Regions from separate parts of the Homo sapiens genome. Here region 1 is linked to region 2. The links are contacts of gene promoters, found by promoter capture Hi-C in blood cells and fetal thymus (Javierre and others, 2016). All regions are on one chromosome and are shown on one strand. Each heading gives the region's core, a stretch centred on a gene start or on the middle of the fragment in contact. The rest is flanking DNA. Distances are from core to core; before and after follow the strand shown. Region 1 overlaps SYNE3 (spectrin repeat containing nuclear envelope family member 3). Region 2 holds the start of PAPOLA (poly(A) polymerase alpha).

The links. Contacts are between HindIII fragments. The CHiCAGO score rates a contact against its expected background, and 5 or more counts as called.
Region 1: a contact is called between a fragment that was not itself captured here and the fragment with the promoter of PAPOLA in region 2, in 1 of 17 cell types (erythroblasts). The highest score is 6.1, in erythroblasts.

The regions. Positions count from the first base shown.
Region 1 is chr14:95,493,874-95,499,986 of GRCh38, forward strand. All of the region lies in intron 1 of SYNE3 (spectrin repeat containing nuclear envelope family member 3), which reads right to left. Among named protein-coding and RNA genes, the nearest start is that of SYNE3-AS1, 19 kb to the right of the region's middle. RefSeq lists enhancers at 1,363-1,864, 1,753-1,852, 6,098-6,113. The HindIII fragment of the contact is 970 bases long and covers 1,321-2,290 here.
Region 2 is chr14:96,500,013-96,506,365 of GRCh38, forward strand. PAPOLA (poly(A) polymerase alpha) reads left to right here and starts at 2,370. Exons shown (of 22, transcript NM_032632.5): 1 at 2,370-2,588. The coding sequence starts at 2,581. PAPOLA-DT (PAPOLA divergent transcript) reads right to left here and starts at 2,314. Exons shown (of 1, transcript NR_122121.1): 1 at 1,636-2,314. RefSeq lists enhancers at 1,075-1,671, 1,672-2,266, 2,184-2,443, 2,267-2,862, 4,018-4,519 and 1 more and silencers at 1,782-2,125, 2,564-2,683. The HindIII fragment of the contact is 10,690 bases long and covers 1-5,090 here.

The DNA.
Region 1 (6,113 bases), core at 556-3,055, 1.0 Mb before region 2:
ATTTGTTGAGATAATTTTTTTTTAATTTTATACTTGAAAGGTAGGTCTTAATATTCATTCCTGTTTTATAGATGAGAATACTGAAGCTGAGCAGTTTCATGGCCTGCCCAAGATTCCAGAGATAGTAGCTGGGAGGCGAGAATTCAAATCTAACACCATTTAGCCAGGTGTGGTGGTGCCTGCCTGCAATCCCAGCTACTCAGGAGGCTGAGGTAGAAGGAGTTTGAAGCCAGCCTGGGCAACAAAGTGAGACCCCTGACTCTTAAAAAAAAGAAAAAAAAAAGACCATTTGACTTCCACATCCAGATGTGCCTGGCGCGGTGCCACTAGGGCCTATAGGTTTCAAGCTCGGGTTCTCCAGATCACAAGCTCTAAATGAGAGTGCTATGGGTGTTAAATGCAGAGGCACAGAGCCTAGAGAAAGGAGCAATGATTCTTATGAAGATTCCAGGAGAGGCTCATAGAGGAAGGGATACCCTGGCTGGGATGTGAAGGATGAGCAGGGTCTGAATAAGATGAGAAGTGGGAAAGGGCATAACGAGTGGATGGACTGGCGAGACCAAAAGCTGGGAGATGGGGAAGTGCAAGGCCAAGTTCAGGCTGCAGGATGGGTTTGGCAATTGTTAACAAAGAGAGACGGGAGGAGGCCATACTGGAGAGCAGGCTGAGGGGACTGAACAGCACAGGATTCCAAAGGGTTGTGTGGGTTTTACTCTGTGGGCAATAGGGAGCCAGTGAGGGTTTGTGAGCAAGAGAGTGGCACAGCCTACTCAGTGACAGGACCCACAAGCAGTCAGGGCAGCATCTGCTCAATGGTGTGAAAACCACACTGGACCAAGCAGGGCCCTTGCAACAGGGCACCTTAAGTCACATGCTAGGAAATGCCTTGTAAGGTGCCGTTTAACCCTAAGGCATCCTATTTATTGTAAACCTGCTCTTCAAAAAAAAGGCCATGGGTGCTGGGCGCCGTGGCTCATGCCTGTAATCCCAGCACTTTGGGAGGCTGAGGTGTGTGGATCGCCTGAGGTCAGGCGTTCGAGCCAGCCTGGCCAGCATGGTGAAACCCCGTCTCTACTAAAAATACAAAAATCAGTTGGGCGTGGTGGCAGGCACCTGTAATCCCAGCTATTCAGGAAGCTGAGGCAGGAGAATCGCTTGAACCTGGGAGGCGGAGGTTGCAGTGAGCCGAGATCATGCCATTGCACTCCAGCCTGGGCAACAGAGCGAGACTCAGTCTCAAAAAAAAAAAGAAAGAAAAGAAAAGAAAGAAAAAAAAGGCCATGGGTTCAGATAGAAGGGTCTTTTCTCAAGAACTGATTAAGCTTGCCAATGTCTAATGAACTGTGAGAGCAGCCTCCATTCCTTCCAAGAGTGTCTGTGCCCAGTCTGTCCTTACAGTCCTTTTCCCAGCAAAATGCCCAGCCGGGCCCACCTTGGACAATGCTGTTTGACAGTTAAGGAGTCTCCTGCCTGCTGCTACCCTGTCTCCTGCTCTGGGTTCATCTGCGACCCTATGATTGTCCTGGTAGGTGTCAAGGTTATCACTGGGTCTTGATCTTAGGGTGCCAAAGGAGACTCCTGTTGGTTGGGTAAAATGTTATCAAATGCTACTCACAATGGCAATAGTTCCCATGGGTGAGGCCTGCTGTGTGCCAGGCACTGGGCAGACACCATGAAGGCCCCCATCAACCTTCAAATCAGGGGTCATCGTGCTGCCTGACAGATGGGGAAACTGAAGCTGGCTCTCCTGCCCACGTCAGACAGTGACTGAGGCACCAAGTCAGAAGCAAGGCCAGGCCTGCATGGCTCCAGCACCTGTGCCAGGCTGTAAAATGTCGGCAGAATGAGGAAGTGAATCAGGAAGGCAAGGGAGGAGGGTTCCTTTTTGACTCAGAACAGGATTTCCCATCTCACACCCAACTGACTGAGAGACAGACGGGGTGGAGGGTGAGCCCCAGTGGCTCATGCTGGACTGTCCCCCGTGAACAGTCCTAAGCCTGGGACAAGCCCGAGGGGCCAGTGAGGCTTGGGGTTATGGCAGCTGGGCCTGCGAAGCCTTCCCCAGTGGGCCTCTCAAGAGTATGGCTTGAAATGAATCAGGCAGAGCACCTTGACAGGGCAGCGGCTCCAAAACCCAGGTCTCTCCCACCTCTCATTCCACTCAGAGGGGCCGGGAGAAGATGAAGGCCATGCCCTAAAAGGACCCTAAGTGGATGGGCAGAGAGTCAGGTTGTGGTCGTCTTGTCTTCTGATCAAGAACTATACCAGACCCAATTTCTCTCCTTTCCAAAGCTTGGGAGATGCTTAATTCACTTAATGACAAATCCTTCAAAGCCTATGCCAGACACTGTGGTCAGTGTTGAAGATCACAGAGATGAACCAAACAGATAAGAGCATCCTGCCCTGACAAAGCTCAATGTCTCTTTCTTCTTCTGCAAAGTGAGTGTTGCATTTGGAGGATTCTCAACACTGTGGACTCCCTCCCCTGATCCCTCCACTCCAGTCTCTCTAACATGGCATTTCTTAACATGGGACCTTCTGGAATCCACCCATTTATGAATGTCCTGTGGGAAGCCCTAGCTAAATTCACATTCCAAAATGTGTCTGTGAGCTGGGGATTTTAACCAGCCTCCTCTGACATCATTCCTGGGATCGGGGGTGGGACCTGGATGGGCCACGAGGGCTCCATGAAATCTTAGGAAGCTTGTTCTCCTGGTGAGAACGTCTGGAATTCCCTCCTCCTCCCCTAAGACCCCCTATCTCACAGAAGATAAGAATATGTTTGCCACAAGCAATCCACAGTGTCCATCATTACATTCTCATTGTAAACAGCTCAGAATATTCTATGGAGTGAAGGTCACAAACTTTCTTGAACCACTTCCTTTTTCTTGGACAGTTATATTGCATTTATGTTTTCTCCAGGCAACTCAAATATTTGCAAAGTTATCATTTATGTAGCAAGTGAGCAAGCTGTGGAGTCTTCCAGCCATGAAGCAGCACTCCTGCCGGGCTCAACTATCCACTCTCGTACTCTTACACCCAAATGGTATTTTTCTGATCCGGAGCCATTGTTTTCTTAGGGCTCTGCACTTGCTCTTTAGCATCAGCTGCTGGCCCTCTTTTCAGGGCCATTTTAAACAAAGAAATAAAATTTGTGGTCACTTGGCCCGAGCTGGAAGATTAGGGCCAATTCAAATCTGGATGGTGTGAGGCTCCAGGGCTGGGCTGAGGGGGCCTGGCAGGGCTCACTCCTGGTGAGTCACTGCCCCAGCCCCTGTCCCCCCACACAGGGATTCACAAAGGCCTGCTTTTCCTGGGACACTTCCTAACAGCTGCTAAGGATTCAAACCTGACTTTGCTGCCAAATAAGCTATGTGGTCTTAGCCCAGTATATTTAACTCCTCTGACTTTGCCTTCTCATCTGTAATATGGGGATGGTATTAGCATAAACTTCTCACTGCAGATCTGAAGACTAGGTGAGTTCATATTGGTAAAGTGCTTAGAACAATGCTGGCACACAGTAGGTGCTATATAACAAATAAATAATAAATTTGCAAATGTGACAGTTTTCCCGAGGGGAGAAAAAAAAAGATGCAATATAACAGTCCAGCAAGGAAAGTTTGTGACATCCACCCACTCTACAGCATAATCTGGCCATTTACAACGAGAAATTAACACCCTAGAATAATGCACGGTCTGCAGAGAAAAAGAGCAGACTGCAAAGCGCTGCACTCTAGAGCGAGGGTTGGCAGACTGTTTCTGGAGACGGTCAGAGAGCAAGGCTTTTAGGCTTTACAAGCCATATGGTCTCCGTCACATCTCCTCAAATCTGTCATGGTAGCATGAAAATAGCCACAGATAGCATGTAAATAAATGAGCATGACTGCGTTCCAACAAAACTTTATTTACAAAAACAGGTGGCATTTGACCAGCAGGCCACAGTTTGTCAACCCCTCCTGTGCAAATCATTCAAAAACTGTCAAAAAAAGATGAAGAATGAAGCCGGATGCAGTGCCACGTGCCTGTAATCCCCACAATTAGAGAGCCTTAGTCAGAAAGACCTCTTGAGCCCAGAATCCAAGGCTGCAGTGAGCTGTGACAGGAGCGCCACTGCACTCCCCTCCAGCCTGGGTGACAGGACAAGATCCCAACTCTTAAAAAAAAAAAAAAGGAAAAAAGTAGCATCATAGAGCAGTGAAATCATGTGTACATTTCTAAGATTTCAATTTCCTTAAAGTGGTATTAACAATTTTTTTTAAAAAAATTAGAGGCTTTTAAAGTTACATTTTAATCACAATTAAAAGATTTTTGTTTGTTTGTTTGTTTTGTTTTTTTGAGATGGAGTCTTGCTCTGTCACCCAGGCTGGAGTGTAGTGGCATAATCTTGGCTCACTACAACCTCCACCTACCGGGTTCAAGCGATTCTCCTGCCTCAGCCTCCCAAGTAGCTGGGATTCCATTCATTTCACCAGAAATCTGGGATTATAGGCATGCACCACCATAGCCAGCTAATTTTTGCATTTTTAATAAAGACAGGGTTTCACCATGTTGGCCAGGCTGGTCTCGAACTCCTGACCTCAGGTGATCCGCCTGCCTCAGCCGCCCAAAGTGATGGGATTACAGGCGTGAGCCACCGCTCTGGGCCTACAAATTCAAAGATTTCATAGTTCCACTAGACTTTCAGAAAAAGTTAAGAGTATTAAGTCCAGCATTCAAGTTACATGAGACAGAAAAGGTACAGACTTTGAAGTATGTATAGAATAGGACTGCATCTGTCTTCTCCATCTACTAGCTGTGTGACTCAGGCAAGTGTATTCACCTGTCTGTTCCCCAGATTCCTCATTTGTAAAATGAGGATGACAATGGCACCCATAAGCATGCAAAGAGCCTGGCACTGAGTGAGCCTGGTGCACCATAGGCCCTCAACACAAATAAGCCACCTCTCAGTCCCCCCCAGGCTGGATCCGGCTGGCCCTGGGTCTATGGCAGCAGGACAAGGCGGACTAGAAAGCCTGGCATGCTTTACTTTCCAGCTAAAAAAAATACCCTCCACAGTTTTCAGCTTTGGTTTACAAAAACAACACAGAACCATTCGAATCTCACTTTTAATTTAATAACTGGCACCCCAGCCTGAGAAACGGCAGGGTTCATTTCAAATGGGAGTTCTTGGCGGGAGTGAATCTCAGAGCTGTACTCACTGAACCCTTAAGGAGATCCATGGCCCTGCAGTGCCTGGGCCCTTGACTGGCAGAGCCAAATCCTTTCCTGGATCCAGAGGCTTAGGCACGAGGATGTTTCCATTCATTTCCCGGGAAACCTGCCAGTTTTGCAGGAGGCAGGGGGACCAGAGTCCTCTCTTGGCAGAAAGGAGCATCTAACGGCTCAGGGTCAAAGGCTTTTCTGAATGAACGCCTCCTGTGCCTCACAGCCTCCACCTGAGAAAGTCCAAGAAGTTTAACAGGACATTCAAAGTCCTTCTCCATCCATCTCTGCAGCCTCAGCCTCCCCTACTTCCCACCTCCTCTACTTGCAGTAGGAACCACCTGTGGCTCCCTGTATGCATCATTTCTCCCCTTTGCTCCTGCTGGTCCCTCTGCCCTTCTCTGCCTGGCTACATTCACCCATTGGCTTTGGCATCACCACCTCCAGAAAGCCTTCCAGGATTTTTCATAGTGTAGAGGACTGGGAACTAACATTACTAAGTACCCATGAGGTATTTGTACACATCAGCTCATTGAGTCCTCCCACCCACCGTTAAACCAGAATGACTGGCTTCTTTTTGTAGATAAAGAAGTTGAGGTTAGATTCAAAGTGGCTAAGTAACCTGCCAAAGGTCACACAGCAAGCAATCCTGCCCCTTTCTTCTCCCCAGCAGTCCCTTAGCAGAGCCCAGGCTGTTTTAAATTGTCCTCATTCTGCTGGGGCTGCAGGATGATGTCCACTGAGTTACCTAGAAGAATCCCCTGTATCACTAACTCTTGTCTTTTTTTTTTTTTTTTTTTTGAGATGGAGTTTAGCTCTTGTTGCCCAGGCTGGAGTGCAGTGGCACCATCTCAGCTCACTGCAACCTCCGCCTCCCATGTTCAAGCAATTCTCCTGCCTCAGCCTCCAGA
Region 2 (6,353 bases), core at 1,120-3,619:
AAGTCCCCATTCTTTTATTCATAAAGTACATCGTTAGTGCATTTTTTTTTTTTTTTTTTGAACAATGTCTTGCTCTGTTGCCAAGCTAGAGTGCAATGGCATGATCAGGGCTCACTGCAGTCTCAACTTCCTTGCCTCAGGTGATCCTCCCAACCTCAGCCTCCCAAGTAGCTGGGACTACAGGTGTGTGCCACCAAGGCCAGCTAATTTTTTTGATTTTTTTTTTTAGTAGAGACAACGACTTGCCACGTTGCCCAGGGTGGCCTAGAACTCCCGAGCTCAAGGAATCCTCTGCCTCCCAAAGTGCTGGGATTACAGGTGTGAGTGAGCCACTGTGCCAGGCCCCAGGGCATATCTTTACAAGCTGCTTTGAAGTCCATAGCCTTAATACATTATTGAATTATCTGGATCTCAGATTTTCAGTCTTTTAGGGACAACTATGCTACTGGGTCTCCAGCCAAAGCCACCTTGATGACAAGAGGAAAAGAGACTAAATGGAAGAAATGACAATCAAATATAAGTCTGTTTGCAGATCAGCACTATTTAATGGAAATGAAGGCCACATATATAACTTAAAATTTTCTAGTGGTCACATTTAAAAAAACAGGTAAAATTAATTTTAATAGTATATTTTCTTTTTTTTTTTTTTGAGACAGGATCTCGTTCTGTCAACGCAGGCTGGAGTGCAGTAGTGAGATGACGACTCACGGCAGCCTCCACCTCCCACTCCAGGGATCCTCCTACCTCAGTCTCCGGAGTAACTGGGACCACAGGCAGGAACTACCATGCCCAGCTAATTTTTTTTTCTTTTTTCTTTTTTTTTTTTTTTTTTTAACTTTTTGTATAGACGGGGGTTTCCCTATATTGCCCAGGCTGGTCTCTAACTCCTGCCCAAGCGATCCTCCCACCTCAGCCTCCTAAAGTGCTGGATCACAGGTGTGAGACACCGTGCCCGGCTTACATTTTCTTTACTGCAATATATCCAAAATATTTCAACGTGCAATCAATATAAAAAGTGATCAGTGAGGTATTTCACATTCGTCGAACTGACACCCGTGCGTATTTTGCACTTCCAGTGCCTCCTAAACGAACTAGCCTCATTTCAAGTGCTCAGTGGCCCTAAGTGGCCAAGGGGCTACACTAATGGACAGGGCAGGTCTAGGTCCTGTGTTTTTCCCATTCGGAGTCACCAGTCCTACTAGACATTCTGTGAAAAAAGGGAAAGCCTTTGTGAAACTTCCTGAGGACTCACAAATGCACATTATTACATTTAGAGTTTAGAACTTTGGTTAAGGCAGCGTCCTGTATTTGATTCTTTCCCTCTTCCTCTCCGCTAACCCCCTATGTGACACCGTAGAACTTATAATTCGTTCTAATTCGCAGATGGAGGGCATATGAGAGAGGAGGCTCTGCCTCAAACACTTTCTCAAACTTTTGCCGAGGGGTGGCGAGAAGGTAGACTTCCAGGTCCCACCCGATATAGATTAAGGGCTGGAAACACAGTCAAGGGGAAATTATGACCAAGACAACCTTTGCTAAAATGCCAGCGGTGACTGCCATTGATGTTCCTATAAAAGGTCAGCTCTGTCAGGAAGTTCCAGTGCATCATTTGTTCAAAAGTAAAATCAGCCCGTGTTCCAGAATTCGCGGACTGTCGTCAGTCCTAACCTACACATTTATTCGTTCAACAAATATTTCAGCGCCTGGGTCAGGCATCAGGAATACACTGGTGGTTAAAACAGACGGAAAGCTCCATCTGGTGGGACGCAGTCTGGGAGGGAAAGGGAGTCCTGGGGACATGTTTTCGTCGGCTCTAGGCTAAGCACCTCTCGCCGTAGCACACGGGGTCGGCACCGCTGCCCGGCGAAGTACTTGTTACTTTGCAGTCCAGTACGAAGCGGCGGAGTAACCGGTTCCAACCCAAGGCAGCGACTCATGCGAGTCGTTCTAAGCGCCGCGCTGGGGGGTACATACGGTGCACGCGTGGGTGCCTCACCCCCTGGCAGCGCCTCCAGGGACGCTGCTCCGGGAAAGAGCAGCCGCCGCGACCTCAGGCGGCGGGAAAGGTGGGACCTCACAATGCGCCGGAAGCGGTGCCTCGTGGCTTGGGATCTCTCCGGGTTCTTCCTTGCGCCGTCCACGCCGCACTGCCCACGAGGGCGTCCCCGCCCGAGGGACAACTCACCGCCCGGGGCCTCCCTGAGCGTTCCCTTCCACCATCTGACACCCACTGCTAAGTGTGAGAGGACCCAGGGGGTAATTGCCGGGCCGCAGGCGGCCTTAGGAACTCCGCTTCCCGTGAGGCTTCGCGGCGGACGGCGCTGGTGCGCAGGCGCACGCACGGCGTGCGTGGTGGCGTCAGCAGTTCTAGAACGTTGCTGTGGTAGCGCTCGGGCGCCATGTTAGGACGAAGGGGAAGGAGGAGAAGCGCTTAAAGCGGCGGGAGCGGTGCGGGAGAGGGGTTGGACCCAGGGCTGAGGCAGGCCCCCCCCTCCCTCCCGCCTCAGTGGATCATGCCCAGGGCGGCAGCGGCGGCGGTTGCGGGGGGGAAGTGACTGGGCGGTGCCGGCGCCGGAGACGATGCCGTTGTAAGTAATTTGTATTCTGTTTTCTTTCGCTCGCCGGCTGGGCCTTGGGGGGCGTCCGGGAAGGGGAAGAGGTAGGCGGAGAGGGTGGCACGCGAGCCCGACCCTCCCCGCTGGTAGGAGGCAGGCAGGACTGGGGACCTTCCTGTTTCCTCGCTCGCTCGCCGCCGCACTTCCCCCCGTGTGCTGGGTTCCCGCGTCCCCCGACCCTTCCTGGCTGGGTCAGCTGCCGTCGGGCCGGGGGCCTTCCCCTTCCGGAATTGCTGGCGGAACCTCTAACTCGCCCGGCCACTCCAGCTTCTCCGCCCCGTCCACAAAGAAAATCAAAACAACCCGAAAACAAAACATTGCCTGGTGGTGGGGAACCACGACCCTGCTGCACGCGGGATCAGCACTTGGGGTTCGGGCTCGCTCTCGGCGCCCCTCGGGCCCATTCGATGTTGCTTTTCTGTTCCTGGTCTGTCTCAGTTTGCTCACTCTCTTCCTCCCATTTCCAGATGCCTGTCTTGTGCGCCGGAGTTAGCCCCTTTCCACTGACCTTGTCTGAATGTAGGAGCACGAGTTAAAAGCCCAGCTTTGAGCGTTGAGTCCGCCTGCCTCCACCTCCGCCTCCCTAGCATTCACAGGCGGTCGGAGAAGGGGGCACTTCACAGGGTGCCCTCCTCCAAAACGACTTATGTATTGCTTTCCCTGTTTTGTTTTGATGGGGTAACCAGGTTTCATTCTGTTTCCTTCTTTCTCTATCTCTGGTGATACTTTTTTTTTCCTGGTTGTAAGGCTTGAAGCTAGTCTCTTTATGCTTTCTAATGCCACTGCGCCTTTTTCTTTTCTTGGTGGGTTTTTAAAAAGTTTTTTTCTCCCCTCCCCCTTTCTGATAATGAGATATAATTTGGCAGCTCATTGCCAGTAGATTACGGATTTTTTTTTTCCTGCAAATATACAGCATTGTAGAGGCCTAAATAGTGAGACTGCATTTCTTCCATTTTTGAATATTGAAGCGTAAGAGTGCCTCTTTGAGACCAGGGACCGAGTTTTCTTCATCTTAGTAGCCTCAAAACGCAACATGTAATTGACACTCAAAGTTTTGGTTAAATTCAGGATAAAGATTTTTGTGGTTTCTAGACATCGAATGTAGTAACTCAGGTCTATTTTTTTTTTGTAAGTAAGGATAATTTCTTTAGCACATAATCACCGATTGTAGTTTTACAATTATATATGTGTGTGAATGTGTTTCTTTACAGGTGAGACTCTAACTTTGGCACAGACCTTAATGACTTCTATCGCAATTTATGTATTTTAAAAGGATTTTCCATGGCTCCCACCCACCCCCTTAGGTTATTAAGAAGTCTATCACATTACTTCTGTGATGAAAACGTTTGTTAGACTTAACTAACTATACAGGTCTAAAATCTTGGAATCTGCATGGTTTCTGTTTATTGATTTTTCCCTTTCATAGAATAAGAGACCCTAGGAGAACTGAGTCTAAGCAAGATTGTTGTGGTGTTTCTCAGTTCAATAGGAGATAAATGTTTGCAGTGATGTCGTGATGACTGCGTTATTAAGTTAACATTTTGCTGTCTTTGAAAAGGGACTTCTTTTTCTGATAATCATACCAGCATTAAAAATGATAGATGTAAACCTTAAAAGGCTTCAATGAAGAAATAACATTAAGTAATTTGTGTCTTATTTCTAGGAATTAAAAGTACTTTTATACCTACTTTCCCCCAACATTCTTTGAAGAGGGAAGGTATACATTTCTGTGAAAGACCTTAGGTATTTCAAATTCTTCGCGAGTTAGTTCAAGTGTGTAAAATGGAAGACGGGGCCAGGCGCGGTGGTTCACGCCTGTAATCCCAGCACTTTGGGAGGCCCAGGCAGGTAAATCGCTTGAGGCCAGGAGTTTGAGATCAGCCTGGGCAACATGGCGAAACTTCATCTCAACAAAAAACACAAGTTAGCTGGGCGTGGTGGCTCATGCCTGTAATCCCAGCTACTTGGGAGGTTGAGGTGGGAGGACTGCTTGAGCCCAGGAGGCTGAGGCTGCAGTGAGCCTTGATCATGCCACTGCGTTCCAGCCTGGGTGACAGAGCGAGACTCAAAAAGTAAGTATACGATAATTACTGTAGTAAACAATAGAGAGACCAAAGAATGCCTAGTTAAAGAAAAATAGGGCTTCTTCCTCATTAAGTTGCTTTGTTTTTCATGTACTGCTGTCACACTGTCATAAATGTTGTTTTTTTGATGTGTTGGATTGTGATTTCCCGGCTATATTGTGTTTGGCTTTCATTTTTGGTATACCTGTCCTAATGTTAAATTTGGATGGGTGAGTGGCATTGGGGCATGGACCCTAGGTGAGTTGTCGGAATGAATTTAAATCAAAATTATCGAAATTTAGGATATTACAGAACATTTTGATCAAGTGTCCATATTTTGTCTAAATTTCATATGTAGCTACAAACATACTTTTGGAAAGATTATAGTCTGATTTAAGAGTCATGGTGGTGAAGCTTCTGAAAGTTTTGATAGTCTTTGGATCCATTAAACAGTTTCTCACCTAGTCATTATTGACATTTATGCCAGATTCATTCCTTGCAGGTGCCTGTCCTGTGTATTGTAGTTTAACAGCAGCCTTAGCTTCCACCTACTGGATTCCGGGAGCTCCACCCCTCCATTTCCCCAGTAATGACAATCAAAAATGTCTCCAGATATTACCAGATGTGCCCTGGGGTGCAAAATCTGGTTGAGAACCACGGCATTAACGAAAAGTGTGATGCCCTTATGGAAACTAGATGTATTTCTGCCCTACTCTGTGTTGGTCAGATATTTTTGGCATCAGCTCAGTTCTGAGTATCACACATATGATAAAAAGGTGTGAAGGAGAGTAACCAGTATCAGTAGCATTTATGCCACATGCATAGAATGTTGTCAAAGTTACCAAAAAGAGTTACTGCAAGGTTTAGGCGAGACAATAGCAAAAATGTTTTCGGGGGCTGCACAAAAAAGAGGGAATTGTAGTAGTTTTACATCGCCATAACAAGCAGAACTGGTACCTGCTGGTGGATGGTCTGTGCTTCCCAGAGCGGGATCTGTGGATGCTTGGGGAGGGGGACCACTGAGATCTTTCAGAGGGTACATAATGTTCAAACTATTTTCATGTTATTGAGATGTTTTGTCTTTCAACATTTGTACTTAACGGTGCAAAAGCAGTGGTGGAAAATGCTGTATCCATCATAGGAACAATCAAGGCAGAGAACCGGTATTGTATATAGTCATTTCCTTCCTTCCTTCCTTGCTTGATTCCTTCCTTCCTTGCTTCCTTCCGTTCTTGACGGAGTCTTGCTCTGTCGCCGGGCTGGAATGCAGTGGAGCGATCTCGGCTCACTGCAACCTCCACCTCCCGGGTTCAAGCGATTCTCCTGCCTCAGCCTTCCAAGTATCTGGGACTACAGGTGTACGCCACCACGCTCAGCTAATTTTTGTATTTTTAGTAGAGACGAGGTTTCACCATGTTGGCCAGGATGGTCTCGATTTCCTGACCTCGTGATCCCCCCCCACCTCGGCCTCCCAAAGTGCTGGGATTACAGGCATGAGCCACGGCGCCCGGCTGTCATTTTATTTCTTGAAGACTGCACACTCATAGTTTAAAAAGCTTTTGATGAAACAGTAAAAGGAGGTTAATTTTATTAAATCTTGACACTTTGTTTATTTAATGTACTGTGACCACGGAAAGTACTTGTGAAGCTGTATACTGGGGAGTAGAATGGTGGT